4 separate regions of the Homo sapiens genome follow, and all the other regions are linked to region 3. Evidence: promoter capture Hi-C in 16 types of primary human blood cells and fetal thymus (Javierre and others, 2016). All regions are on one chromosome and are shown on one strand. The core of a region is centred on a gene start or on the middle of the fragment in contact, and the rest is flanking DNA. Distances in the headings are between cores, read along the strand shown. Region 1 overlaps ANXA13 (annexin A13). Region 2 holds the start of FBXO32 (F-box protein 32). Region 3 holds the start of ZHX1 (zinc fingers and homeoboxes 1). Region 4 overlaps ZHX2 (zinc fingers and homeoboxes 2).

Region 1 (2,700 bases), core at 182-2,681, 420 kb before region 3:
TTGTCGGGCGTCTCCCTGGGTGAACAGACAGTGCCAAAAATCAGGGCTAAAGCTTATATGTACAATAAGGTAATCTATGGATTTGATGATTCTTTACATGAAACCAGCTCTAAAATGCTATCTATTCATCCATTTCAAAAGCCTTGCTCAAGTGTCATTCTTGATATTTATTGCTGATGTTTTTAGAGTTCAGCCTGCTCTTAGACCCTGGTTCTATGATTTTTCTGATGGCTTCTGACCAAAAGCACAGAGATGCTAGTCTGAGATCACTGGAGTTTCTTATGTGGCATGAGTCGTCCTGGCTTAGGGTTGAATTTTAATTTTCAGCACAAAAACTCAGGGTTTTGCCATTTATTTATGCTCTAAGCCTGAGTCTTAACTTCTGACACTCCCAGCAATCCCAGGCCACGCAACAGTTTCCCAAACTTCTGCATCATGCAGGATTATTACAGTCCCCAGCGTTACCAAATATGAAAGACTTATATAGCTATAAAACCAAAGTAAAGTCCCCAAACAGGGCTCAGCATAAACAGTAGGTATGCATACCCATAGCCCACTTTGCTGCCACCTCACTGCGTGCCTCACCCTTTGCCCCTCCCCTGTACATGTTCCTTATTCCACGCCAGAGGCTTCAGCCCTCTAACTGCTATAGTCAGTGCCAGAGCACAGAGGGCTCTGCTGTCAGCGTGCCGTCCATTTGGGGAAACCGATTTTCAAAGAAAGAAATGTCTCCCCTGCTCCTCTAATAACCTCCCTGCAGGCATTGCTGCCTGTTTAACTAGAGTCTTAGAGACTTGTTTGGAATCTACCCTTATAATGTGTTTTTCTACTGAGATCAGAAAATCTGCTTCTGTACAAAGAGCCCCTAAGAATCACGTTGCAGTAACTGAAGTGAGAAGTATCCAAAGTACAGTCCCAACAGCTTGGGCCAGACCATTGTTTCAGATTGTGTCCCACGGAGACGCCTCAGCAGCTACCAGGAGTAGGGTGGGGCAGGAAGCAGACAGGGCAGTACCTTCTTGTTGCAGTGTGTGAATAGCGCCTCCTGGAGTTGTGCAAGGAAAAAACCTGAGCGGGCAAAAACATGGTATAGATGCCAATGGCAAGGGAAAGGAGCCCACCTCCCGCCTCCCAGCACAGCTCTGCTTTCTGCTTTCATCTGTTTTGTAGGCTGAGATTCTACAGAAAATTTAAAATCCCTGCTCTAGCCTGGTATTAACAATAGAAATGGAAAACGGTTTAATGTGAGGATTTTTTAAAGTAAACAAGACCTGTGTGAACAAAATGTTCTCTTGAAGTATGATCTCAGTCTACAGAACAAGAACCTTGTTTCTGGGAAAGGGATACCAATCCCTTCCAAAATAATGACTCCCACATCAAACCCAAAAAAGACTGGGGGCAGCTAAGGAAGGGACAGTTCCCCCACTCTTCTAATCTGGTTTCTATTGCCACACACCAAGGCCTCCAGATATGCAAACAATGACTAGGAGATCAAGCAACAGGGCTTCATTAAATCTGGACACAGTTCCTCCCCCGACATATATTGTGCTTACATCACAAAGAACATTTTGTTTACCTGTGTTTTCAAAATAAACCACATAAACTCCACTGGTGCATACTCAAAGTCCCCAATTATTTATAGAATCAATTGTGTCATATCCTCAAAAGATAATTTCTAAGAAAGAAATTTCAGTGTTTCTAATGCTTAATTGCATTTCTCCAAACCCAGCAAAGCATTCTCCTTTCTCTTTATGTGCCTGCCCTGAGCTTGGCCCGGGCAGTATTTGTGTTAAGGATAGTCACAATTTACTCTGAACTTCAGCTTCTGTAAATATTTAGAAAGAAACCTAATGTGTAATGCTGCGCAGAGCAATATGTGAGCCAGTGGTGAATATAGGATTATTTGGAATCACCCCAGAGTGAAGACAAGTGGCATTTTGATGTGGTCAGCACCCCCGGCTCCCAGCCCTTGCAGACCCACCCTCTCAGGAACTTTAGATCAAGTTGTTATCATGAACTTCACCATGCCTACTTATTTCACTCAAACTGTGACTAAGTCCCTGGTCCCAAGACAAGGGAGAGGATGGAGGTGCATGTCAGATGATCATAACCACAGCCTCCTGGGAAATTGAAACTGGAAAGGGTGAAGAACACATGGGAACTAAACTACACATCAATGTTAAAAAAAAAATCTATGATTATAGTATATATAATATATTAATTATATATATTATAATATATATTATATATTAATTGTTTCTCCACTCCCAAATTTTACAGATGAGGAAATTGAGGTTGAGGGAGTGGCACTAAGGTCAAATCCATTGGGAGTCAAATCTAGACTGACTCCTCAGCAACGAGAGCCCTCTCTCGAATGGGTGGCAAACACCCCAATCCTACAAGGCAAGAGTCAGGATAGCAGTTCCCTGAAGCCACAGGACTAAATCTGGAAAACTTGAGTGCTTTTTGTAGAGGAACAACCCCAAGAGTACTAAGGTCAAAGGCAAACCTGGAATAACAGTTGATTTTGGTTTTCGCTGCAGCTCATTGGCAAAGACATAGAAGAAGCCATTGAAGAAGAAACATCAGGCGACTTGCAGAAGGCCTATTTAACTCTCGGTAAAGTAAAGTTAGGAGAGCTCCTGTCTTAGGTTGGGCTGCCTGGAACCAGACTCAGACAGAGGTTTGTGTGTAGGAAGA
Region 2 (2,700 bases), core at 11-2,510, 270 kb before region 3:
ACTTTATTAAAAACGTCTTCCCAGTCCAACATGTAGCCTCATAGGGCACACACAATTTCTTTGCCTGAGCCTTAAAGATTACACCGAGTCAGTGGACTAGATGATATTGATGGCTGCAGAGAAAGAAGAATGGAAGAATGAAGTTTGAAGCTAATGCTTGAGTATGGGATTTTTACTCTGCTGCTGCTGTCCTGTGCAAACTAATTGCCAAATAGACCAGGCTGTAAAGCATCATAACTAGAGGTGATGAAGGGCAAGAAGCCACCCTCATGCCAGCAGCCTCCCGTATCCATTCACTTATTCACACAAATAGTTGTTGAAGGCCTGCACTGGGCCTGGCAGGGTGCAGGGGCTGAAATGCCTCCGGAACAAGACAGACCAGCTCTCATGGAGTTCCCACTGCAGACAGGGGTAGATTGTTGTAACAACAGCAAAAAGTAAAAGCAAACAGGGTAGTTTCAGATTGTACTGTAGCATTGGCCCTGGGTACATCATTTAACCCGTCTCTTAGAGGGTTCGGGTAGGATAGGGGCGCTGTTCTTTTTCTCCACTCCCAACCTGCGGGAGCCAGATACCTCCCAGGGCTTCCTCTCCTTCCCCTCCTTTGCTGCCCCAGGGGCAGGTCTGAAGGAGGACTGGTTAGTGACAGCTAAGGGGCCCGGAGGGCTGGGAGGCTGTCCCTCCTCCCCGCTCCAACCCCCGCGCGCTAGGGCGGGGTTGGGGCAGTGAGCGAGGTCAGGAGGCTGCGCCCCCTACTCCCCGCCCGGCGGGCGCGGTGCCGGCCCCAGCTCTGCGGACGGCCCGGGAGGCTGATCTGGCTGCGGAGGTCGATCCTGATAGCTCGGGGGCAGGAGGGGGGCTGGCCCTGCTCCTCACGCCCACCCCGCAGGGACCCAGACGCCCCTCCGGCCCCCTCCCTGCACCCCGTCAGCCCGGGAGCTGCAGGAGACCGGGGCGCATCTTTCCAAGCGCCGGGCCTCGCTCTGGGACAACGGTGTCCTGGGGGCGGGGAGGGCGCGCGGAGGTGCCAGGGGCGGCGGGGTACCCGGCCCGGCAGCACCGCTTCAAGTTTCCACCGGCGCGGTTGTGCAACCGGGAGGGGAGCGTGAGCCGCAGGCGCCTCGGAAAACAAGCCGAGCCCATAAACAAAGCCACGTGGCCTCCGGGCCGGGGGGCCGGGCTAAGAGCGGGCGGCTCTTCCGGCAACAAAGAGCTGCGGCCGGCTGCGGGGATAAATACTGCGGCAGCTACTGCCGCGCAGCACTCCCGGAGCCTGCAACGCTTGAGATCCTCTCCGCGCCCGCCACCCCGCAGGGTGCCCCGCGCCGTTCCCGCCGCCCCGCCGCCCCCGTCGCGGGCCCCTGCACCCCGAGCATCCGCCCCGGGTGGCACGTCCCCGAGCCCACCAGGCCGGCCCCGTCTCCCCATCCGTCTAGTCCGCTCGCGGTGCCATGCCATTCCTCGGGCAGGACTGGCGGTCCCCCGGGCAGAACTGGGTGAAGACGGCCGACGGCTGGAAGCGCTTCCTGGATGAGAAGAGCGGCAGTTTCGTGAGCGACCTCAGCAGGTGAGGGGACCCGCTACCAACTTCCAGCCCCCGCGAAACTGACCCGGGCTGGTCTGGGGGGCGCAGGGACGGCGAATGAGGGGCAGGCAGGGCTGGAGCGGGCTGAGGAGGGAGACCCTGACCCGGAGGGTGGGACTACGGGGCCCGATTTCTGCAGAGGTCTTCGGACCACCGGAGACAGGGAATTCGGTTTCTCTTATTGTTCAAGGTCAGTGTCTCCAAGTGGACACGACTCCTTACAGAACACCTGGTCCCTCTGAGAGTCTGATGACATTCGCGGATCGTGTCCCCAAACGTTCGCTCAAACTTAATCACACAGCTTTAGTGGTCCCTGCTTTAAGGACACCGGAGTCGCGCACTTTGCCCATGTGGGGGCGCGGGCGGGTGGGCTGAGCCCCTTCACCGCGGGGTGGCCCGGCTCCCAGCGCCCAAGCGCTGTGGACGCGACAGGTGACGGGATCCGACGAAGGTCCCGCCTGGAGCGCTTCCAGGCCCTGCCCAGGCACGGGCAACCACGAAGTGGCCGGGAGGATGAGTAACCAGGAAGGGACGGCCAGATGGTCCCTGGGGCAGCCGCTTACTGGGCGGACTTGCGAGCGGTGGAGGCTTGGGGCTGCAGAGGTGCAAAGGAGGGAAGGGGGCAGGGGATGAATCCCACAAGAGCTCTGCTTCTGGGAGGACAGGGCTCTTGCACCTGTTTCCTCGGTGGCCCTCTCGGTCGGTCTGCTTTGTATAGAGTGCACTCCGTTTCCAGGGGTGCCTGTCAGCTGCGAAAAGCCTGCCTGGCCCCGGTGAGCCTCTGGATTCGAGGCCTCACCTGAGCTCTGTGGTCTGGCGGGAAACCTGAGGTCCGCTGCGCTCCCTGCTCAGCTTGGCTAACGATGCCAGCGCCGGCTAGTACGCAAGGTAGCCTGGAATTTCTCAGCCCCTGACCTCGACAGTTGACTTTCAGAGACTCTCAGCATTTAGCCCGGTGAGCGGGGGCGATGAAAGTGATTCCAGAATGGACTGGTGCAGCCAGAGTCACCCTTGGGAGCCTTTTCCTGCCACCTTTGGTTAAAACCATGGGCCCCTGCACCCTTAAATTGACTTCAATGGAGAATTCTGTTTCTGGGCCAGGTTCCCGCTTACTG
Region 3 (2,700 bases), core at 115-2,614:
AGGCAGGAGAATCGCTTGAACCCGGGAGGCAGAGGTTGCAGTGAGCAGAGATCGCGCCATTTCACTTCAGCCTAAGCGACAACGCGAGACTCCGTCTCAAAAAAAAAAAAAAAATCAGACTTCCACTTGAAGCAATTGCATCTTTTAGGATTAATGTGGCTCAGCGGAGCTCTGCTGTGCTTTTAGGATTACTGTGGCTCAGCGGAGCTCTGCACAAAGGGTCCGCGACTGGGATGGGGGTGGGGAGTGAACGTCAAGGGGCCCAGGAGCGCTCGAGCGTCCAAGGCCCGGCGTGTGGAGCAGCTGGAGGGTGAGTCGCCGCTCTCCGCTTTGGTTCTGTTCCTCCACGTTCTGACCGCGGTGCGGGGGAAAGGGAAAGTGAGTAGGGAGGGGCGGAGACGCCGGGCAGTGTTCCCGAAACCCCTGGCCCTCGCTGGCCCCGCTGCGGGGCTGGTTCCCTGAAAGCCGACGGGATGTGAAGCCCTCGACTCGGACAGAAGCCTCTGGAAGAGCGAGTGGCGGTTCGCAGGGAGGAGGGCGGCTGAGGGGCAGAGGGCGGCTCCGCCTTGCCCGGCGGTTCTGAGTGCAGCTGAACTGAACTTTCGGTGTCAGCGGGTGGAGCTGCGGCCCGCGGAGGAGCGGGGTCCGAAGCGAGGAGAGGTGGAGCTGCCGCTGACAAGGGGCGCGGCGACTTCTGTCAGGGCGCTGGGCTCCCGGCCGGACTCGCAGCAGCCCCCCGAGGGGCGGGGCCTGGGTCGTGTCGCCCCAGGGGATGGGCGTGTGATGACAAGGGGCGTTTCAGTAGAAGCCAGCATGCTTACCTCTCACGATCCAGCAGTGACATTAGGAAGGCGGAGCGCAAGGAAGGCGGGGCTGCCTTCTGTGCTGACCCGAGAGAAGACCAGGCTTCAGTCCACAGCGGGCGGAGCGGTCGCAGGCAAAGGGCGGGGCCATTTCGAGCCCTGGGAAGGCGGGGCGTCTCCTGACAGGGGGCGGAGCTTCCGCAGTCTGGGGCGGGGCTTCTGTTGACAGGGGGGCGGGGCGCCTCCCTACCTCCCGCGGTGCGCCAATCCCCGGACTAGGGGCCGGGGTCGGACCCCAGTGGAGTAGCAGGGTCTGGGCGTGGAGAGCTCGGCGCCGCACGGGGTGGGGGCGCGCGGAGGACGCGCGCGCGGGAGGGCCCCGCCTTGGCCGGCTCTCTCCCTTCCCCCTCCGCCCCCGGACGGCCGCTGGGGCGCGCGCCTCTCCTCGCACCCCCACCCTGAGTCCCCACACTCCGCGGGGCCACCGAGCTGCTGAGGCCCCTTTGCGGGCCCGCCGAGCGGTTCCGGGTTTAGGGTTCACAGGTCAGAGTTGACTCCCTGAAAAGTGCAGCCGGTTTGAAATGCAAGATGGCGGCGGCGTGGCGCTGAGAGGCGCGGCGGCCCCTGCAGGTAGTGGCGCGAGCCGGCTCCGCGACCAGCGGGCCCGGAGACTCTGGGCTGCGGGTGGGAACTGGAGCGCAGAGTCCGCGGCCGGCACGGGAAAGGCGAGTAGCGCGGGGCCTGGCGGGAGGAGGGCAGCCTCACAGCAGAGACCCCTGGGGCTGAGCCCGCTCGCGGCGGCGGGTGGCGGGGTGGACCCGGCGTGGGGCGTCCGAGGGGGAGGGACGGGGCCTGCCTCGCGGCTGGGTAGTCGCCGCAGAGGGACAGACAGACCCACAGCCTCCCTCGCTCTTTTTGGGTGTCTCCGCCACCGAAAGAGCTTGGGGGCGGGGGGCTCTCTGGAGGGAACATCTCAGCCCCCTGCCTTGGTGAGGACCCAGCAACTTAGGATTGTTGAGAGGAGTGAAGACTGCGTATTCCCAGCGGAGGGCGCCGCCGGAGGGAGCACCCCAGTAATGTTGGGAGTCCTAGAGGAGGTCAGGAGCGCTGTCCTCCGGGGGCGTGTGGCTGCCTCGTGGGGGACCCAGTCTCCCTGAGAGTAAGGAGAGATTCTCTTGCTGGAGCTGAGCGCACTGACTGAGGTTGGAGCCCCAGCAAACCCTTCAGGAGAAGTCTTTACCTCCAGTTCAAGGAAGGCTATGCGCACCCGTTTCGGGGCCAGGCCATGTCCCAACTTTGGGAAAGACTGGGAGTTGAGTCCTTAAGAACCATATTACGATTGTGACGAAGCCCTGGGATTTAGGGAGAAGTTAATTAAAGAGGATGGTAGGGGCGTGGGGGTGTGGGGGCTGACCCATGGGAATCCTCCAAGCCTTAGGGCCCACAGTGAACAATCTACTAATACCTCAAGGGGTATAAAAGGCTGGGAAGGAGAGGTGTGAGAGGAACAAGGTCTAAGGGCAGGAAAGAAGAGCCCTGGCAGATCCCCTTTCCTTATATATTTACACCAAAGTTGGAGGTAAAGGGACTTGGCAATTCTTTGTTTTAGTACCTTTCCTGTCCTCTCTCCTCCGTGGGTAACTGTAAGGAAAGAGCATAGCCCCTGAGAAGGAAAAGATTCCATTTGATATCCTTAGCTTAGGTTAGTGAAGGATCCAGCAGCTGGGAAGGCGTCAATGAGAGACAGCAGGCGGGGGAATTAGAACAGAGACTAGGGATGAGAAAAGAGGAATACAGGGAAGATATCGGACAGAGCAGGAATTCCACAGCCCTTTTCTGTCAACTCAGCCCAGCTATTAGAAAAAAAAAAAAATGCGAAGAGCTAATATTTGAGAGA
Region 4 (2,700 bases), core at 84-2,583, 480 kb after region 3:
TGGATTCAGGAATCCTGTTCAAGGTAAAAGGGAAATTGGTTGCCTTGCTGAGCGGAAGAGAAAAGGCACAATGCTTGCTGAAGCAGCACAGCCAGCCCAGGGTTCTCTGTGCAGAAACAGGCACTACTGGCCCGACGGTCATGTGCTTCCCCCACAGTCTCCAGGCTCCTTGCGGCTTTGCGAGGTTGTGTGAGCAGAAGTGGCAACTTTAGAAAGTGGGTACATACCCCTTTCCTTTTCTCTTCCTCTCCTCCAGCAGCCTGAAAGCCAGTTGTTTCAAATGAAGTGGCTACAAAATTTTAGCAGCGTGGATCCCCAAGTCACAGCTTGGAGGAAAGCTGCCTTACAGAGCTGTAGTCCTTCAGTGGACTTCATGAAAGGAAGAAATAAACTCTGCCTTATGAAGCCACTGGGATATTGGGGTTTACCTGTCACTGTATCATAGCTTAGCCTAACCTGATTACTCACATATCTCATCCAATGCCTATCCCAGAGGTTTCCTGCACCTGAAGGAAACCAAAATACTTTTCTCCAAACTATTGAGGATCGTTAAGTGAAAGACATTGACAATGCCAAGGAACCCCCTGGCCGGCCTGCATCTGCCTGATGGGAGGACACAAATCTTTCCTTACTGGAGACAGCACGGACTTAGGAGACCAAAGGAGGCACCAGCAGGCACCCGAGGAATCTGGGAACAGATTTTACTGTCTTCCCACATTTTCCCGCTTTTTCAAAGACTGGAACTGCTCTCTTCTTTGTCTTGTCACTATATAGGATTTATGGCCCTTTGTTAAAATACTATTTAAGCAAGGTCCCTAAGCCACCACCTTGAGAAAGAAATACTTTTAAACTAAGGCCTCTCCCATGTGATGGGCAGAGCACGCATTAATAAACGTTTGGTTGTTTGTCTTCTGTTAATCTGACTTTTATTTTCAGGACAGCGTTTCCACAAAGAACCTAAAAAGGGAAAAAAAGGAAACTAGATTTTCTCCCCTACACACAGTTGTTACAGAATGGTCTGCTATTCTATTACTTAAGCATGGGCATGTGCACACACAAATATCAGACTGGAATCCCAAGCCCATTTTCCTATTACACAAGATGGCACACTAAGATAAATCTTAGTAAGTACTAAGTAAGTACTTAGCACACTAAGTAAATCTTAATAATCCCACCATCCCACTGGTGACAAAACTGCAAGAGGACAGTGTCTTGAGGATGAGAGGCTGTGTTAGTGACAAGACGTGCCTCCAAAGGGAAAGGTAAAAGATGCTGCTGTTACTAGTTCCCGTTGTGTGGTCTCTCATAAGCAAAATCTTAAACTCTAGTGGGGAAGACAGGGCCAGTGTCTACATATCCTACTTGCTAAGGATTTAATCTTTTTTTTTTTTTTTTGAGATGGAGTCTCGCTCCATTGTGCAGGCTGGAGTGCAGTGGTATGATCTCAGCTCACTGCAGCCTCTGCCTCCTGGGTTCAAGCGATTCTCCTGCCTCAGCCTCCCAAGTAGCTGGCATTACAGGCGCCTGCCACCATGCCCAGCTAATTTTTGTATTTTTTGTAGAGACAGGGTTTCATCATGTTGGCCACGCTGGTCCCGAACTCCTGACCTCAGGTGATCTGCCTCCTCCGGCCTCCCAAAGTGCTGGGATTACAGGCGTGAGCCATCGCGCCTGGCCTTAACACAGAATCTTTATGTCCTTTACATAACAGTCCAGCACTGTGACAGGGCAAGTATATGGGATCAGATGTCACTCAGACCTGGCTTCAAATCCCAGCCTTGCCTTTTACTGTGTAACTCAGGCAAGTTAATTTCTTTGAAGCCTTAATTTCCTCATATGTAAAATGAGTATAAAAATTTCTACCAATGGGGGTAGTTGGGATTAAATAATATAAAACAAGGTATAGTATACAACATGCTTGGTTCAATGGCTGACACTTAACACATTTACATCCTGCCTTCCTACCACCATTAAATAGCATTTGATCTCAAGTTCAGACTCTATTAAAAAAAAAAAGTTTACTATTGGAAGTACCAGAAAGATCCTGCAAGGACAGTTGTGATATTGCTCTATGTGCCACAAAGGAAGGTGGAGATGGTGCTCCCAAGAGGAAACAAGGGATAAGGCCAGGCCCAAGGGAGGAAGTGGACCCAGCTTGCGCCCAGAGGCCAGATGTCCAGACAAGGGAGCAGGGCTAGGCCAGGGAGGCAGGCAGGTTGGCCAAGATAGGCCAAAAGCACCTGAACTTGGGACAAAGCTGGCCTGGGATAGACACTGCCTTGACTGCTTCCTGTTACAAAATAGTCCAGTGACAGTCCTTCCAGGCTGTGGCAATGACCTGCCACCAGGGGCAGCAGCGAGCAGCAACTCATTCTGCACCTGTGCCAACCCAGGAGCATAGAACTTCCTATAGGCTGTAGTGACAGAGCCACTTCCTCATTCATATAACCATCCAGTCATTCCACAGACATTAATTTTGAGCCTATGAAGTGGGCCAGCCCTGTGCTGGTGCTGGGAACACGGAGACAAACAGGAAGATTTCCCTTGGGGTGGAGAAGTGGCTCATAGTATTTCAGGGATGCAGATGTACAAACAGATCAAAATCCACCAGCTTAGATTTCTAACAGGTTATTTCCATGGTACACTGGCCTGTTAGAGAAGAGAACAAATATCTCCAGAGTAGAAAAAAGTAGGTTTTGC

The links. Contacts are between HindIII fragments. The CHiCAGO score rates a contact against its expected background, and 5 or more counts as called.
Region 1: a contact is called between a fragment that was not itself captured here and the fragment with the promoter of ZHX1 in region 3, in 4 of 17 cell types (total CD8 T cells, naive CD8 T cells, naive CD4 T cells and 1 more). The highest score is 6.6, in total CD8 T cells.
Region 2: a contact is called between the fragment with the promoter of FBXO32 here and the fragment with the promoter of ZHX1 in region 3, in 1 of 17 cell types (fetal thymus). The highest score is 5.1, in fetal thymus.
Region 4: a fragment that was not itself captured here is called in contact with the fragment with the promoter of ZHX1 in region 3 in 1 of 17 cell types (non-activated CD4 T cells); the score reaches 5.2 in non-activated CD4 T cells.

What each region holds. Positions count from the first base shown.
Region 1 is chr8:123,688,790-123,691,489 of GRCh38, reverse strand. ANXA13 (annexin A13) reads left to right here. Exons shown (of 11, transcript NM_004306.4): 9 at 2,544-2,619. Among named protein-coding and RNA genes, the nearest start is that of KLHL38, 36 kb to the right of the region's middle. The HindIII fragment of the contact is 2,754 bases long and covers 55-2,700 here.
Region 2 is chr8:123,539,766-123,542,465 of GRCh38, reverse strand. FBXO32 (F-box protein 32) reads left to right here and starts at 1,260. Exons shown (of 9, transcript NM_058229.4): 1 at 1,260-1,567. The coding sequence starts at 1,452. RefSeq lists silencers at 734-1,023, 1,114-1,223, 1,274-1,363. The HindIII fragment of the contact is 4,426 bases long and covers 1-2,700 here.
Region 3 is chr8:123,272,950-123,275,649 of GRCh38, reverse strand. ZHX1 (zinc fingers and homeoboxes 1) reads left to right here and starts at 1,364. Exons shown (of 4, transcript NM_007222.5): 1 at 1,364-1,433. ZHX1-C8orf76 (ZHX1-C8orf76 readthrough) reads left to right here and starts at 1,364. Exons shown (of 6, transcript NM_001204180.2): 1 at 1,364-1,433. RefSeq lists an enhancer at 14-133 and silencers at 614-1,303, 1,504-1,703, 1,740-2,107. The HindIII fragment of the contact is 9,533 bases long and covers 1-2,700 here.
Region 4 is chr8:122,794,866-122,797,565 of GRCh38, reverse strand. All of the region lies in intron 1 of ZHX2 (zinc fingers and homeoboxes 2), which reads right to left. Among named protein-coding and RNA genes, the nearest start is that of ZHX2, 15 kb to the right of the region's middle. RefSeq lists enhancers at 236-325, 1-405, 2,086-2,205, 2,516-2,635 and a silencer at 2,296-2,395. The HindIII fragment of the contact is 2,746 bases long and covers 1-2,700 here.